Regions from separate parts of the Homo sapiens genome. Here regions 1, 2, 3, 4 and 5 are each linked to region 6. Evidence: promoter capture Hi-C in 16 types of primary human blood cells and fetal thymus (Javierre and others, 2016). All regions are on one chromosome and are shown on one strand. Each heading gives the region's core, a stretch centred on a gene start or on the middle of the fragment in contact. The rest is flanking DNA. Distances are from core to core; before and after follow the strand shown.

Evidence for each region. The method cuts DNA at HindIII sites, captures the fragments that hold promoters and counts their contacts. A CHiCAGO score of 5 or more calls a contact.
Region 1: a fragment that was not itself captured here is called in contact with the fragment with the promoter of SYT17 in region 6 in 5 of 17 cell types (M0 macrophages, M1 macrophages, M2 macrophages and 2 more); the score reaches 10.5 in M0 macrophages.
Region 2: a fragment that was not itself captured here is called in contact with the fragment with the promoter of SYT17 in region 6 in 2 of 17 cell types (monocytes and M1 macrophages); the score reaches 5.2 in monocytes.
Region 3: a fragment that was not itself captured here is called in contact with the fragment with the promoter of SYT17 in region 6 in 8 of 17 cell types (M0 macrophages, M1 macrophages, monocytes and 5 more); the score reaches 16.9 in M0 macrophages.
Region 4: a fragment that was not itself captured here is called in contact with the fragment with the promoter of SYT17 in region 6 in 4 of 17 cell types (M1 macrophages, M2 macrophages, monocytes and 1 more); the score reaches 9.9 in M1 macrophages.
Region 5: a fragment that was not itself captured here is called in contact with the fragment with the promoter of SYT17 in region 6 in 3 of 17 cell types (monocytes, M0 macrophages and M1 macrophages); the score reaches 7.4 in monocytes.

The regions. Positions count from the first base shown.
Region 1 is chr16:19,488,482-19,491,181 of GRCh38, forward strand. TMC5 (transmembrane channel like 5) reads left to right here. Exons shown (of 22, transcript NM_001261841.2): 18 at 1,914-2,087. Among named protein-coding and RNA genes, the nearest start is that of TMC5-AS1, 1.9 kb to the left of the region's middle. RefSeq lists an enhancer at 1-215. The HindIII fragment of the contact is 2,926 bases long and covers 1-2,700 here.
Region 2 is chr16:19,528,155-19,530,854 of GRCh38, forward strand. The region is part of intron 2 of CCP110 (centriolar coiled-coil protein 110); the gene reads left to right. Among named protein-coding and RNA genes, the nearest start is that of CCP110, 5.6 kb to the left of the region's middle. The HindIII fragment of the contact is 6,012 bases long and covers 1-2,700 here.
Region 3 is chr16:19,510,167-19,512,866 of GRCh38, forward strand. It overlaps GDE1 (glycerophosphodiester phosphodiesterase 1), which reads right to left. Exons shown (of 6, transcript NM_016641.4): 3 at 673-778. Among named protein-coding and RNA genes, the nearest start is that of GDE1, 11 kb to the right of the region's middle. The HindIII fragment of the contact is 2,165 bases long and covers 221-2,385 here.
Region 4 is chr16:19,428,803-19,431,502 of GRCh38, forward strand. It overlaps TMC5 (transmembrane channel like 5), which reads left to right. Exons shown (of 22, transcript NM_001261841.2): 2 at 1,611-1,838. Among named protein-coding and RNA genes, the nearest start is that of TMC5, 12 kb to the left of the region's middle. The HindIII fragment of the contact is 3,518 bases long and covers 1-2,700 here.
Region 5 is chr16:19,547,385-19,550,084 of GRCh38, forward strand. CCP110 (centriolar coiled-coil protein 110) reads left to right here. Exons shown (of 14, transcript NM_001323572.2): 13 at 571-630. Among named protein-coding and RNA genes, the nearest start is that of VPS35L, 7.0 kb to the right of the region's middle. The HindIII fragment of the contact is 654 bases long and covers 1,024-1,677 here.
Region 6 is chr16:19,166,922-19,169,621 of GRCh38, forward strand. It overlaps SYT17 (synaptotagmin 17), which reads left to right and starts at 1,319. Exons shown (of 8, transcript NM_016524.4): 1 at 1,319-1,740. The coding sequence starts at 1,726. RefSeq lists a silencer at 715-964 and an enhancer at 1,156-1,903. The HindIII fragment of the contact is 5,386 bases long and covers 1-2,565 here.

The DNA of each region.
Region 1 (2,700 bases), core at 113-2,612, 320 kb after region 6:
CACCTCTCCAACCCCACTTCCCTTTGGCTCCACTGTTCCCCGCCCCACCACCCTCACCCCATTCCTGGAAGCCAGCAAGCCCCTCCCAACAAGGGCAGAGTCCTCTGAGTGAAGTCCTTTTCCCACTCCCTTTGCTTGGCTGCCTCCTCTCCACCCTCTGATTCTCAGCTCCAAGGCCCTCTCCAAGATCTGATCTTCACAGCCCTCCTTGTCTGCTCTCAGTTCCCCACTGCTTCTCTCTCTCAGACCTGAGTTTCTTTCCTTCATTCTATCATTCATAATCAGGAATGCCTCTGTGTGAGTCTTTAATTGTTACTCAACGATTGTCCGTTTTTCCCACCAGAATGTAATCCCAATAGGGCAGGAACTTGCTTAATATGAAGTCCCCAGAGCCTGACTAGAACAGTGCTTAACAGAATAAGCCATGGTTGAATGAACAATTGAATGAATTAATGAACAAGGGAGATGATTTTTAGGACACATGTGAAACTGGGGCTCTCAGTTCCTTGCTCCACAACACCCTTGCTCCTCTTGGCATATCCACTCTCTTCTCTCTCTTCCTTGCTCCACAACGCCCTTGCTCCTCTTGGCATATCCACTCTCTTCTCTCTCTTCCTCACCAGTTCCTTGTTGCCCTATAGTTTCTGCTCATTCCTCCATAGCTAACAGGCTTCCCTCTTTATGCTTCTTAATTCAATTTCTTTCTTTGAGACAGGGCCTTGCTCTGCCACCCAGGCAGGAATGCAGGGGCGCAATCACAGCTCAAACTCCTGGGCTCACGTGATTGTCCCACCTCAGCCTCCCGAGTAGCTGGGACTATAGGCACACATCACCATGCCTGGCTAATTATTTTTTTATTTTTTATTTTTTTGAGACAGAGTCTCACTCTGTCATCCAGGCTGGAGTGCAGTGGCGCAATCTCGGCTCACTGCAAGCTCCGCCTCCCAGGTTCACGCCCTTCTCCTGCCTCAGCCTCCTGAGTAGCTGGGACTACAGGCGCCCGCCACCACGCCCAGCTAATTTTTTGTATTTTTAGTAGAGACAGGGTTTCACCGTGTTAGCCAGGATGGTCTTGATCTCCTGACCTTGTGATCCACCCGCCTCGGCCTCCCAAAGTGCTGGGATTACAGGCATGAGCCACCGCGCCTGGCATGCCTGGCTAATTTTTTTTTTTTTTTTTTTTTTAGAAATGGGTGTCTTGCTATGTTGCCTAGGCTGGTCTCGAACTCTTGGCCTCAAGAGATCCTTCTGCCTTGGCCTCTCAAAGTGCTGGAATTGCAGGCGAGCCACCATACTTGTCTTTAATTTCATTTCTTTTTTTTTTTCAGACAGGGTCTTGCTCTGTTGCCCAGGCTGAAGTACAGTGGTGTGATCACAGCTCACTATAGCCTCAACCTCCTGGGCTCAAGTGATCCTCCCACCTCAGCCTCCTATGTAGCCAGGACCACAGGCATGTGCTGCCATGCCCAGCTAATTATTTTTTTGTAGAGATGGAGTCTCACTATGTTGCCCAGGCTGGTCTTGAACTTCTGGGCTCAAGCAATCCTCCCACCTTGACCTCCCAAACTGTTGGGATTAGAGGCATGAGCCATAGTGCCTGGCCTTAATTCAACTTCTTAAGAAAAAAAGTCTGACTGCCCCCATTCATATCATTGAGCCAAGTTACTGCAGAAGTCACTGCTTGGCCTTTGGATTGGCTGCTGTTGGGTCAGCTCTGATCTGAGAGCAGGTCCTTAGAGTACAGGTCACCCCAGCAAGGCTGAGAGCAAGAGGGTTTCTTTGGGAAGTGGGTGTGATTGGATCAGGCAAGACTTGATGTTTTCAGGCCCAGAGCCCAGAAGGGACACCCTGATTCTAGAATAACCATCCCTGAGTCTTGTGCTAGAGATGTTCTTCCATCTTTGTTTTACCAGATTGAAGCCTTCAGCTGACTGTGGCCCTTTTCGAGGTCTGCCTCTCTTCATTCACTCCATCTACAGCTGGATCGACACCCTAAGTACACGGCCTGGCTACCTGTGGGTTGTTTGGATCTATCGGAACCTCATTGGAAGTGTGCACTTCTTTTTCATCCTCACCCTCATTGTGCTGTGAGTGTGGTACCCGGGGAATCTAGCAGGGAAAGCCAGGAGCTCTCGAGGGAAACAGCAGTAGGGATGTTTGGTTGGAAAGCAAATGGCTATAGCATAGCTCAGTGTTCTGGGTGACTCTACCCTTGCATAGGTAGTTTTCTTTCCTTCCTTCCTTCCTTCCTTCCTTCCTTCCTTCCTTCCTTCCTTCCTTCCCTTCCTTTTTTTCTTTTCTCTTCTCTTCCCTTCCCCTCCCTCCCTCTCTTTCTCCCTTTCTCCCTTCCCTTTCCTTTCAGTTCCGTTCCTTTCCTCTTCATTTTTTCTTCCTTCCTTCCTTCCTTCTTTCTCCCTTCCCCTCCCTTCCCTTCCCCTTCTTTCTCCCTTCCCCTCCCTTCCCTTCCTTTCCCCTTCCCCTCCCTTCCCTTCCCTTCCCCTTCTCCTTCCTTCCTTCCTTCCTTACTTCTCTCTTTCTTTTTTGGTTGAGACAGGGTCATGATCTCTCACTCAGGCTAGACTGTAGCGGCATGGTCATGGCTTGCTGCAACCTCAACCTTTCAGGCTCAAGCCATCCTCCCACCTCAGCCCCCAAGTAGCTGGGCTTGCAGGTGTGCACCACTACACTTGGCTAATTTTT
Region 2 (2,700 bases), core at 92-2,591, 360 kb after region 6:
TAGCATTTTTTACTTACTATTATAGATTGGCCAAGACCTAATAGAACTTTGTGTTCCTTAGATTGTGGAGAAAATGCACTTTTAATGCACTTTTGCTAAGAGAATCAGTTTATTTTATTTCTAGATGAGCAGTTTGGTAGAATTTAAAAGCATACATAGCCTTTGGGTCAGCAGTTCCATTTTTGGGTATATCCTACAATTATATGTGAGCCCAAAGAAATAAGTACAAAGTTACATTAGCATTGTTTAAAATAGCAAAGGTTGACGAACCACCTAAATGTCCATCAGTAGTGGAGTAGTTTAACTATGGTCTATTTTATAAACTCTCATACATACCATTACAGTAAGGCAGATGTAAATGTTGAGGCATGGAAGGATCTCAATGATCTAGTGTAAAACACCGTGTGCAGCATGCTGTCAGGGGCAGTATAGAGTCATGATTAGAGGTCCAGACTCTGGGCCAGGCACAGTGGCTCACACCTATAGTCCCAATGCTTTGAGAGACCGGAAGGAAGAGGATTGCTTGAGACCAGGAATTCAAGACTAGCCTGGTCAACATAGTGAGACCTCATCTCTATAAAAACATGTTAAAAAATTAGCCTGGCGCAGTGACATGTGCCTGTAGTCCCAGCTCTTCAAAGGCTAAGGCGGAAGGATCGCTTGAACCTAGGAGTTGCAGGCTGCAGTGAGTCAGGATTGCATCATTGCCTGGACTACAGAGAAAGACCCTATCCCAAAAGAAGGAAAAAAACTCCAGCCTGGGCTAACAGAGCAAGACCCTATCCCAAAAGAAGGAAAAAAAAAGTCTAGGCTGTGGAGCCTTCTGGCCTGGGTCCAAATCATTGCTTTGCTACTTACTTGCTGTGTAAACTTGTGGTCCATTTTCTTATTTGTTAAATGGGGATAAAATAGTGCCTACCTCATAAGGCTATTTTGAAGATTAAATGAATTCGTAGATATAAAATGGTTAGAATACCACCTGGATCATAAGAGGTACCCAATATAAGTTAACCATTTGGGTTTTTCAAAGGATGGCTATTCCTTTTCTGGGGAGTGGTGAGAGAATATAGGATAATAGGGAAGACACTTCATCATACACCCTTTGATACTAATTGGATATTTTAAAAATGCATATGACTTTATTTTAAATCACAAACTAATATTAGAAAAAAGTGAGCTTTAAATTTATTTTTTGGTATAACAGGAGTTAAGAGATTAATTTTAATTAATTGAATTGAATTTTTAAAGACACCAGAGCTAACTGCCAACTTTTTGTAATGAAACTTTCAAACATACAGCAAAGTTGAAAGGATAGTGCAGTGACCACCCATAGATTTACCATTAGATTAAATAATTTTTAACATTGTTGTCATCTTTGCTTTATTGTGTTTGTGATTTTTATATACATCTATGTGTGTGTGTACATATGACATTTTTAAAAATTGCCTAGCTATTTGAAAACCACGGAGACCTGACACTGCTCCCCTAAATATTTTGGTGTACATCTCTTAAAAATAAGGACATTCTCCTATGTAAAGCCCCAATACCATTATCACATCTTAAGAAAACTAATAATTTTTAATAATATCTAATAATTCTGTTCATATTTAAATTTTTCCATTTGTGCTCAAAATGCCTTTTATAACTTTATTCCCCCAATCTGGATCCAAAGTTCACAATTAGTATTTGCTTGTTATGTTTCTTTATTTTAATCTAAAATAGCTACTGTACGTCTTAAAAACAGTTTTTTTTATTGGTTGAGCATGGTGCCTCACGCCTATAATCCCAGCACTTTGGGAGGCTGAGGTGGGTGGATTGCATTGCTTGATCCCCAGAGTTTGAGACCAGTCAGGGCAACGTGGTGAAATCTCATCCCTACAAAAAATACAAAAAAGAGCTGGGTGTGGTGGCGCGCACCAGGAGTCTCAGCTGCTCTAGAGGCTGAGGTGGGAGGATCACCTGAGCCCGGGAGGCTGAGGCTGCGGTGAACCCTGATCATGCCACTGCACTCCAACCTGGGTGACAGAGTGAGATACTGTCTTTAAAAAAATAACAAAACTATGATACTGAATTTTTAAAGAGACCAGAGCTATTGTCTTGTAGAATTCCTTAGATCTTGGATTTGTCCCATTGTTTCCTAATAGTGTTATTTAACTTGTTTCTCTAGTCCCTGTAGTTCCTATGAACTGGAAGTGAAGTTTGATAAACAGGTTAAAGATTTTTGGAATTCTTTGAAGATAGGGCTGGGCGGGGTGGCTCATGCCTGTAATCCCAGCACTTTGGGAGGCTGAGACCAGCCTGGCCAACATGACGAAACCCCGTCTCTACTAAAAATACAAAAATTAGCTGGGCGTGGTGGTGGATGCCTGTAATCCCAGCTATGTGGGAGGCTGAGGCAGGAGGATCCCTTGAACCCAGGAGGCGAAGGTTGCAGTGAGCCAAGATCCACTGAACCCAGTAGGCAAAGGTAGTGAGCCGAGATCGAGCCACTGCACAACAGCCTGGGCAACAGAGTGAGACCCTCTCTCAAAAAAAAAAAATGTAATCCCAGCACTTTGGGAGCCCGAGATGGGTGTATCACTTGAGGTCAGGAGTTCGAGACCAGCCTGGCCAACATGGCGAAACCCCTTGTCTACTAAAAATATAAAAATTAGCTAGGCATGATGGTGGGTGCCTGTAATCCCAGCTGTGCGTTAGGCC
Region 3 (2,700 bases), core at 53-2,552, 340 kb after region 6:
GATTTTCACTGTAATAATATGTTCTTATGAGTGTAAGTGCAGGCCCTAAAATTTAAGCAAAATTTTATCTAGGAATGTCAAATACATTTGAAGAAAATAAATGATTTTCTGATAAAAGTATAACTGCTAAAATCAATGAATAAAAAACTATACATAAGGGATATAAATTATACAAAGGGATAAATCTATGTAAAAGGTATATGTTCTGTTAACTATTAGAAGCTTTTAATATAGGAATTCTCTTTAAATGCAGTCCATAGTTGTCCATATAAGGCCCTTAACTTTTAAGCTAGATAAAATTGGTCTTGTGTACAACTTCGGAATTCCTTTTTTTCAAGTAACTCAAGGTTACTACAGTGGTTTTTTTCTAGAAATGTCTTTTTTACTGTTTACTTAATATCTTTTGTAAATGCTTTATGTAAATAATAGAAACTTGACTCTTCCATTTTATGCTGGTTTTGTAAAGTTTCCATAAAAGGTTAAAAAGTTCCATAATGCACTGTTTCCTTAAATGATATAGATTCCTGCATTGTACACTTCCATTAAACAAATACAATTTATAAAAATAAGTTTTAAAAAGAATAAATAACAAAATATATGTAACTTCGGAAATGACCGTCAATGAAATAAGATGTCTTTTTAACAAAGTGAAGTCCACAATTTAAACTGTACCTTGTGTGCATGGCCTTTGACATCAAAGAAGATTGTGAGGTTATGGTTTAGGCACTCTGCAACAGCTTCCCTTAGGGTAGGGATCTTTTCATCAGGGAAATCATTCCTGTAAGAGAAGAGAAAATACGTTGTAGGAAAAAAGAGAAACAGATAAACTGTATTGCAACAAACATTTTGCATATGTCTCTCAATCAAAAGGAAAGAGTGTTTTCTCCAACTTCCTTTTTTCGACCATAGCAAAGTCCAAAGATACTTTACTTTAAGATTTTTTTTTTTTTTTTTGAGACGGAGTCTTGCTCTGTTGCCCAGCCTGGAGTGCAGTGGTGCAATCTCAGCTCACTGGAACTACCAACTCCCAGGTTCAAGCAATTCTCCCGCCCCAGCCTCCCAAGTAGCTAGGACTACAGGCGTGTGACACCACGCCTGGCTAATTTTTTGTGTTTTTAGTAGAGGCGGGGTTTCACCATGGTGGCCAGGCTGGTCTTGAACTCCTGACCTCAAGTGATCTACCTGCCTTGGCCTCCCAAAGTGCTAGGATTACAGGTGTGAGCCACTGCGCCTGTCCTACTGTAATAATTTGAACCAAATTATAGATATTCTTTTTTCCACATTTTTATTGCTATACACTTAGACATATTTTTGTGATATGCGCATAATGTATAATGATAAAATCAGGGTATTTAGGATGTCCATCACCCCAAATATTTATCATTTCTTTGTGTTAGGAACATCTAAATCTCCTAGCTATTTTGAAATATACAACAGATTGTTAACTATAATCACTTTACTATGTTATTGAACACTAGAATTTATACCTTCTATCGAACTGTATGTTTGTACTCATTAACCAAATTCTCCTTATTCTCCTCTTCCCCCAACCCCAAACCCTTCCCAGCCTCTGGTAACTATCATTCTCCTCTCTACCTCCATGAGATCAACTTTTTTAGCTCCCATATATGAGTGACAACATGTAATATTTGCCTTTCTGTGCCTGGCTTATCTTATTTCATTTAACATAATACCTTCAGTTCCATCCATGTTGCTGTAAATGACAGGATATCATCCTTTTTTATGGCTAACTACATAGTATTCCATTGAGTATATTTACCACAGTTTATCCATTCATCCACTGATGAACACTTAGGTTGATTCTGTATCTTGGCTATTGTGAATAGTGTTGCAATAAACATGGGGGTGCAAGTATGCCTTTGATACACTAGTTTCCTTTCTTTTGGATAGATACCAACTAGTGGGATTACTGGATTGTATGGTAGTTCTATATTTTTAGTTTTTTGAGAAACCTCCATACTGTTTTCCATAATGGCTGTACTAATTTACATTCCCACCAACAGAATATAAGAGTTCCTTTTGCTCTGTATCCTCGCCAGCATCTGTTATTTTAAAAATCTTTTAAATAATGGCCATTCTAACTAGATAAGATGGTACTTCATTGTGGTTTTGATTTGCATTTCCCTAATAATTTGTGGTGTTTTTTCATATGCCTGTTGGCCATTTGTGTGTCCTCTTTTGAAAAATGTTTATTCAAATTAGGATTTGAATAGATGTTTTTAATGGGATTATTATTGTTTTTGCTGTTAAGTTCCTTGTATATTCTGGATATTAGTTACTTGTCTGTTGAATAGTTTGCAAATATTTTCTCCTATTCAACAGGTTTTCTTTTTACTCTGTTGATTATTTCCTTTGCTGTGCAGAAGCTTTTTAGTTTAATATAGTCACATTTGCCTGTTTTTGTTGCCTGTGCTTTTGAGGTCTTAGCCATAAAATCTTTGCCTAGATCAATGTCCCAGAGCTTTTCCCCTGTGTTTTCTTCTAGTAGTTTTATAGTTTCTGGTCTTAAATTTAAACTTTTAATCCATTTTGTGTTGATTTTTTAAATATAGTGAGAGATAGGGGTCTAGTTTCATTATCCTGCATATGGATATCCAGTTTACCCAGTACCAGTTATTGAAGAGAGTTCCTTTCCCCCACTGTAATGTTCTTGGTGCCTTCATGGAAAATCAGTTGGCT
Region 4 (2,700 bases), core at 158-2,657, 260 kb after region 6:
TTTATATTTTCCTTTTTTGTTTTGTTTTGTTTTGTTTTCTTGAGACAGAGTCTCTCTCTGTTGCCCAGGCTGGAGTGCAGTGGCATGATCTCGGCTTACTGCAACCTCCGCCTTCCAGGTTCAAGCAATTCCTGTGCCTCAGCCTCCCAAGTAGTTGGGATTACAGGTGCGAGCCACCACGCCTGGCTCATTTTCTTATTTTTAGTAGAGATGGGTTTTCGCCATGTTAGTCAGGCTGGTCTCCAATTCCTGGCCTCAAGTGATCTGCCCATCTCAGCCTCCCAAAGTGCTGGGATTACAGGCATGAGCCACCATGCCCGACCAGTATTTTTATTTTCCTATTCATAGGTTTGATCTTGCTGTCTTGAAACCACAGACCTTATTTTCTAAGCATAGGCCTCATTTTCTTAGGCTCCAAGGAGTCTAAGTGTATGGCTGTGAATGTGCCTGACACTCTGAAAAGCCAACATGGATCTCAATACTAACAAATGTTTATTTACAGGAAGGCTTTGTTAATTGAGTGATGGAAGCTATTGCTCTCACTTGCTATTTAGAGACTATTGACATTACCTTTATTTCCTGGTCCTAAACATTACACACTGCAGATAAAGGAGTTCCTGGCATTTATTTGTCATGGCATCGAGGCTGACAGCCAAAGTAATCATTACACTAATACACATTCCCAGAAAGAGCAATCAAGAGCAGGCAAGCAAACGAAATCAATGTCTCTGCTGAAATGTGCCTGTGTGTGAGCGTCCCATGACCTGGTGCTCTGGCAACCACTCGTCCATGTGTGGGGGCCATCATCCTTGTGTTGGAGTTGTCTGTCCAAGATCAGGTGCCTGCAAAAAGAATGGGAGCTTCCAGAACCGCTAATGTGAAACTTTGGTTGAAATGAGGTGCCTGGGAATGAGCGATTTCTTCTTTTTTAAATTCTTTTTCATAGCCTTTCAAGAATTTTTAGAATTAGCCAGTCTTGAACTCCTGACCTCAGGTGATCCACCTGCCTCGGCCTCCCAAAGTACTGGGATTACGGCGGGAATCACTGTGCCTGGCCCAAAGTTCCCCTTTTTATAAGGACACCAGTCATGTTGCATTAGGTCCCACCCCAGTGAACTTATTTTAACTTGATTACCTCCACCGAGATCCTACTTAGAAATCAGGTCACATTCTGAAGTACTGCGGACTGGGACTTGAACATACCTTTTTGAGGGGATGCAACTCAACTCATAACAGTGGTCACGGTATGAACAGCATATGCCCTGGAAAGTCACACACCACATTTACGATAGTGGCACCTTCCAGACAGGGAAGAGGACACTGGAAAATTGGATTAGGAAGAGGTATTAGAGAGCTTCACCAGAAATGTTTTATTTCCTTAAGAAAACAAATGCAAGTCTGGAATTCATATGAAAAAGATTAGTATGAGTTAATATTTGACCTTTTCTTCTCTATGCTTCACTGTAGTCTAATGTTTCAAGTTTTTAAGAGAAGAGAAAACAGGAAGCCATTTGAGGCAGTGTTTTCTGCTTCCAAATGCACAGGATTGGGTTGTACAGTATGAGCCCATCTTTTATGGAAGTTTAAGTCCTCTGTCTTCTGATTTTCAGGACATGAGGCTCTGCCTGCAGTCAGCAACTTGGAATATTCAGACTTCAGACCAGCATCACAGATTATAACCCTCCGTAAATCATCTGCATCCCAGCTCCCATCAAAAGCCAGCCTGAAGGACCCATGGACACGTGACTCCAGTGTTCTCAACAACATCTTAAGATCAAGTTGGTTTGCACAACATTTGCATCTACTTGGGACAAAGCAAGAACAATAAGGGCAAAAAAGTAAGTTTTCATACAGCTGAATTTATTCGGTTAAATAAACTACCCTTCTTTTTGAGATGGGGTCTCCCTCTCTTTTTTTTAAGTCCATAAAATGTTTTATGAGATAATGGTGATAGTCAATTGTGATAGCTGCCATTGCCTTTAATATCCTTAGATGGCAAAACAGAATTTTATTGGGACTAATTTCTTTCCTTCTCTCCACTCTCTGCAATAAAAACAATTTTTTTTTTTTTTTTTGAGACTGAATCTCGCTCTGTCGCCAGGCTGGAGTGCAGTGGCACGGTCTCAGCTCACTGCAACCTCCCACTCCCTGGTTCAAGCAATTCTCCTGCCTCAGCCTCCTGAGTACCTGAGATTACAGGCACGCGCCACAACAAAAACAATTTTTTAAAAATTATTTGGTCTGTTTTAAGTCAAATAAATGATGGTTCATTGGAACTAGTTAAAAACTTCTGTAGAATCATTTTCATAATTTTAACTGTGGGTCTTAAGTATGTAGGGATCTTACATTATTTACAGGATCATCACTAGCATATAGAACATTGATTTCATTTATGTTAAGAGGTTAATCATGGGTTTTCATGACAAAGTTCACCCCGTTAGAAGATAAAACGTGGGGGCCGGGCGCGGTGGCTCACACCTGTAATCCCAGCACTTTGGGAGGCCAAGGTGGGTGGATTGCCTGAGGTCAGGACTTCGGTAGCAGCCTGGCCAACATACTGAAACCCCGTCTCTACTAAAAATACAAAAAATTAGCTGGGCATGGTGGCAGGTGCCTGTAATCCCAGCTACTTGGGAGGCTGAGGCAGGAGACTCGCTTGAACCCAGGAGGCGGAGGTTGCTGTGAGCCGAGATCGTGCCA
Region 5 (2,700 bases), core at 101-2,600, 380 kb after region 6:
CCTGGGCGACAGAGCAAGGGTCCGTCTCAAAAAAAAGCTAACTTAAGCTGGGCACAGTGGCATGCTCCTATGGTCCCAGGTACTCGGGAGGCTGAGGCAGGAGGATAGCTTAAGCCCAGAAATTCAAACCAGTATGGGTAACATAGTAAGACCCATCTCAAAAAAATAAATAAATAAAAAATAAAGCTAAAAAGCGAACTTTAATATTTCTGACCTGTTTTTTACTCCTGTAAAATGAGAGTGATACTTTCTTCTCTCACTGGTTTGAAGGGAAAAGTTAGCTTTTGTAAAGCATATGTATAAGAAAATTATCTAAAAGCACAAGGGTTAGTCTATATGTTGGACATTTCTTTGCTGATAAAAACCTAAGGTTTGGACTCTTAGTGAGCAAAATACAAGTATCATATTAATATGCTTTAGTCGATTTGCTCTGATTTGTGGTAATATATAGGCCATATTATTGCATAGTTGACCTTTACCTTACAGTCATCATCTTTCATCCGTTGAAAGAAAATGGGAAAAAATGGAATTTAACCTATTAAATTAATTTTTCATTTAATTTGTCAACAGAGTCCTTCAGCCAAACCAAGGACAGAATGCACCTGTTCATAGGCTACTTAGTAGACAAGGGTAAGAATGCCACACACGGGTATTGAAAACTACGGAAACCAAGATTAGATTTGAGAGGGAAAAATAAATCTAGTGTTCTTTATGTAAAGGATAATGGTTTTTCAATGGGATTTTTTTTCTTTATAGCATTGGGAAAGATATTTTAAAGTTTTGTCTTCAAATGTAACCCTCTTGGTGTACTGTTGTGTATTCTAATTACTGTCTTAAGTTGGGATGTTTTTACTTTTCATTTCATACCATTTTACTCATAAAGTATTTTAAATATCCATATAGTAAATTCAGCATCACCGAAGTGATTCTCCAACAGAGTATGACTCGTGCTTATAGTCTCCTGCTGAAGCCAGAGTTTAGCTTTCCTTACTGTGCGCATGCATGAGACTTCAGTTCTTTTCAAGCTTATTTGTGCTTTGGACAGTTGATGCAATGTGATTGCTTTCTTTGAATTTTGAACATTTAGACCTTAATGCCAGTGACTTATTAATTTTTTTATATTCAATTAGAACCCCTAAGACATCAGTGAAGGGGGTTGTGCAAAATAGACAGAAGCCTTCACAGAGCAGAGTGCCTAACAGAGTGCCTGTTTCAGGTTTGTAGAAAATAAATTCCTGAAGCCCATTCAATAGAAGGAAGTGCACAAGCTGCCCCATAACTCAGGCCATAGAAGTGGAATAGATTGTCTTTCCTTGCCACCATAATTTTGGCATATTCACAGTCATCTTATTAGTGTTCTTTGGTCTTAGCATTGTATGGCAGTCAGGAAGTCTTAGTAAAAGTGTGATTCCAGTCTTCATTTCTATAATATTTCTGTGGAAAGCACCTTGTATTTTTCATTCTGAAAAAATTGTAGAATTTGCCATGCTTAATTCAGAAAACCTTTTTATTTAATGAATAAAAGATAACGATCATCTCTGGTGCTAAGTCTGTGCATTGTCTGTTCAGCTTGGGGAAGTGTATCTGCACATAAGGGGATAAACTTTCTCCCTCAGACTATAAGATCACATGTGAATATGCCAGTGGGAGGAGGGCTTCATATTTTGCTCAGTCCAAAGCTTGAGCTAAATCTCTCCTTATGTTCATTATTTGAGGATTAAGAGCTAAACTAAAAACTGTATTTTAAAATTCTGTTTATGGTGGCAAGAAGACAAACTCATTCTTGAGCAAATTCAAAGCTCTTAACCAAATGCTTTAATATTTTTTAGGTATCTTTGTTAAGACACTTTGATTAAGCTCACTTAAAAATTATGTGATCCATTTAAAAATACTTTCCAAATGTTGTGCTTTAACTATACTGCTTTCTAGACATTTACAACAAACCTAAATTAATCACCAGGCATTGAAGATTAAACCTTTAATCAATTTTAATCTTTCCATTAATATACAATTAGGCAAATTTTAGAGCTTTATTACTAAGTGATTTCCTTCAAATTAGGAGGGAACAAGCTATTGGTCGTAACTTTGAAATGATGGCTGACCTTTTGTATGTATGTAGTGAAGGTAATTCATAGTGTCACACATATATAGGATAATTTAAAAGATCATCTTTGGAAATCATTGTGAGTGACAGTTAATGGAATTGTCTTAAAGGATTACATAGCTGAAGATACTGTTTACTCCAGAGGCAGTCAGAATAAGCTAGTTTGAAAGATAACCATTTGAAAGGACTCAGACCAAACACCAAACCTGTGGAATTTTAAGACATTTTCTGTTTTTCTCATGTTAGTATTCTATATTGCACTGAAACTTAGCAAGTTGGAAAATCATTGAGGAATTAGTATTGTTTTGCCTGATACCAATTTGCCACAGTGACTACTCTCCATGTTCTTTTCTCATGCATTTCATCTCCACTATTTGTCACTTGTGAACTTATAAGCAAAATAGCAAGTACTGTTTTTATTCAGCAATACTCAACAGTATAAAGGATGTATAGTCAGTCACTGAAGTTAGTAACATACAATGAAGTTCATTATTTTGAACTATTGAGGTTAAATTGCATTGCAACATACTTATTAATACAAATGAACTTAACCCTTGAATTAATATGTATCTAAACAAGTACAAAAGTCTGTTGCT
Region 6 (2,700 bases), core at 69-2,568:
GTGTATGCCTGCAGAATCATAAGCACTCAATATGCGTTACGTGCTATATGCTACAAACTAAATATATCATACTAAAAAATGTATAGGTCTGCTAGATTTTTAGACAAAAAATATATGCATCTGAATATCCATCTTTTGTTACTCCCATATTCATTTTCTCATTTATTCCCACAAATCAGCCCTGGAGGATAGGCAGGGTGGAGATTTTCTCCTGTTTTTACTGAGGAAAAAGAGGCACTGGGAGGTTAAAATTAAAATGCTGATAAGCTGGTGTCCGGCAACAGGAGATGACTGGGCATATTAAAAAGAAAACCGGCCCGGCGCAGTGGCTCACGCCCCTAATCCCAGCACTTTGGGAGGCCGAGGCAGGCAGATCACTTGAGGCCAGGAGTTCGAGACCAGCCTGGCCCACATGGTGAAACCCTTTCTCTACCAAAAATACAAAAATTAGTGGGCGTGGTGGCATGTGCCTGTAGTCCCAGCTACTCGGGAGGCTGAGACACGAGAATCCCTTGAACCTGGGAGGCGGAGGTTTCAGTGAGCCAAGATTACCCCAGTGCACTCCAGCCTGGGTGACAGAGTGACACCCTGTGTCAAAAATAAAATAAAATAAAATAAAATAAAATAAAATAAAATAAAATAAAATAAAATAAAATAAAATAAGAAATCCAGCGGAGGGCAATGTTCCACCTCGAATCTCTGAGTGGAGAGCCAGAGGCCTTGGGCTGGGAGGTTTGATGGAGGCCTCTGGGTCCAGGGCGCCCCAGCCACGAGGACAGGCAGGAGGGCGGCGGTGGACACGCCCCGGGGCGCACGCTCGCTGGCGGCCGCCTGCCCGTGGGCAGAGGAGCGCACGAGGCCGGGCACGACGCTGGGTGGCGCTGCCGGGCCGCCCCGCGCTAGACCTGTTGCGTCCAGGGCGCAACTCCGGCAGGTTTAGGGTAAAGGGGCGCTCCGCTCTCTCCGCGCGCCCCCTGCAGCCCTGGACGCAGCACCTCCGTTTGGGACGCCCTACGCCCACCTTAACTTGAGGCTCCCATCCACGCAGCCTCTGCAAGCCTCACCGCAACCGTGCTAGGCGCGTCGGGTGGGGCGGGAATAAAGTTTTTCCAACCCAGTTTGGGGAGAGGGCTGGATGGGAAGGACCCTCCCTGCTGCAGACTTCATGGCAGGCTGCACTGTGTCCCCTCGGCTCCACGGCTGCCCCGGGGGCGCTGCTTTCGGTAGGTGCCAGCCCCCGTGCCAGCAGGATGGGCTGACCTGTGTACCGCCCCCTCCCACCCCCTTCCCCATTCCCATCCCCTCCCCCGCCTCCTGCGCGCTCCGGCCCCGGCGTCTCCGGCCCCGCCTGCGCTGGGGTCGCTGCAGTCCCCGCAGCTGCCCCGGGCTGCTTGCCCAGGCGCCCCGGCCTTATTCCAGCCTGGGGAGCGCCTCGGTGGGGAGCACGGGACAGCGAGGGAGGCCGAGGCGGGGGCCCTGGGCGCCCGATATCTCCGAACCGGGGAGGCGGCCCCGATTCCGAGAGCCGGAACGCAGGGAAAGGCAAGGACGGGGCGGCCGGCGGAGGGGCGGGCGCCGCTCATCAGCCACGCCAGTCACGTCTGGGGCCACCGGCTGCCTTTTTCTTCCTTTCCCCCTTTGCTTTCTTCCCCCTCCGCTGTTGGCGAGGGCAAAGTGGCCGTGGCGGCGCCATGCCCGGGCCGGAGTGAGTGCGCGCGGGCGAAAATGGCGTACATCCAGGTAGGGCTGAGGCTGGGGGCAAGGTCCGGGGTGCGGGTAGGGGGTGCCGCGCCCCCTCCGGCTGGGAGCGCGCGGAAGGGAGGGCCCACGGCTAGGCTCCCACAAACTTGCTTCGAGAAAAAGGGTGCCCGTGCGCGGGCAACCTGTGCAGCAACAGGGGTGCGCCCCGGGAGGAGAGACTGGGGACCCCCAAACCCCGGGATGGAGGGTCCTATGTGTACTCTGCAACGCGCGCCCTTGCCTCTTGGGGAGGGAATGGGGGGTGGGGCGGACTTTTCTTCTCCCCTGCCCCCTCCCTCTCCTTGGCACCCCACCCCAGGGGAGGGGCCGTGGGGAGGGCGGCCCGGGGCGCGCCAGCCACCCGGCCCGCCAGCTGCCGTTGCCGTGGTGACGGCTCCGGCTAATTGGCCGGCGGAGCGAGCCTGAGGCAGCTGTTCCGACCAGGAGGGACAAGGACGTCGTCTCTCCTGGGCACTGGGTGCTGAGGGGTGGGGGACACCCAGAGGCCAGAGGCGCGCTGGTGAAGAGAAGGGAGCCTGTTACTTTACTCCGCTGCATTGGGGTCTGGGAGATGTGGACCCTCTTCACCTTGAAGAAACGTCCCCCAAGAATCCTTGGGCTGAAATAATTCTGAAATAATTTCTAAGCAGCCTTTTTTGGGGGGAGGGGGCGGAGGGGTGGGCCGGGCTTCTTGGTGAAAAGACCTTTCTCCTCTGCAAGAAGGGAAGTGACCGCAGGTCAGCGCCAAGGTCAAGCAGGCAGACCCGCAGTGAGACCCGTTGAGCTGCTTGCTTCTGGCGCTGGCGCCTCTGAGCTGGGCAGAGAAGCTTACAGACTCCCACGTCCAGGGTGCATCTTGGCTCACATCTTGTCCCCTCAGCCACAGCTGGGGGTGCTGCTGGTCCTCCCATTCCCCTCTGGGTCACATATCCCCTCATCGTGTCCTCAGACGCTTCAGCC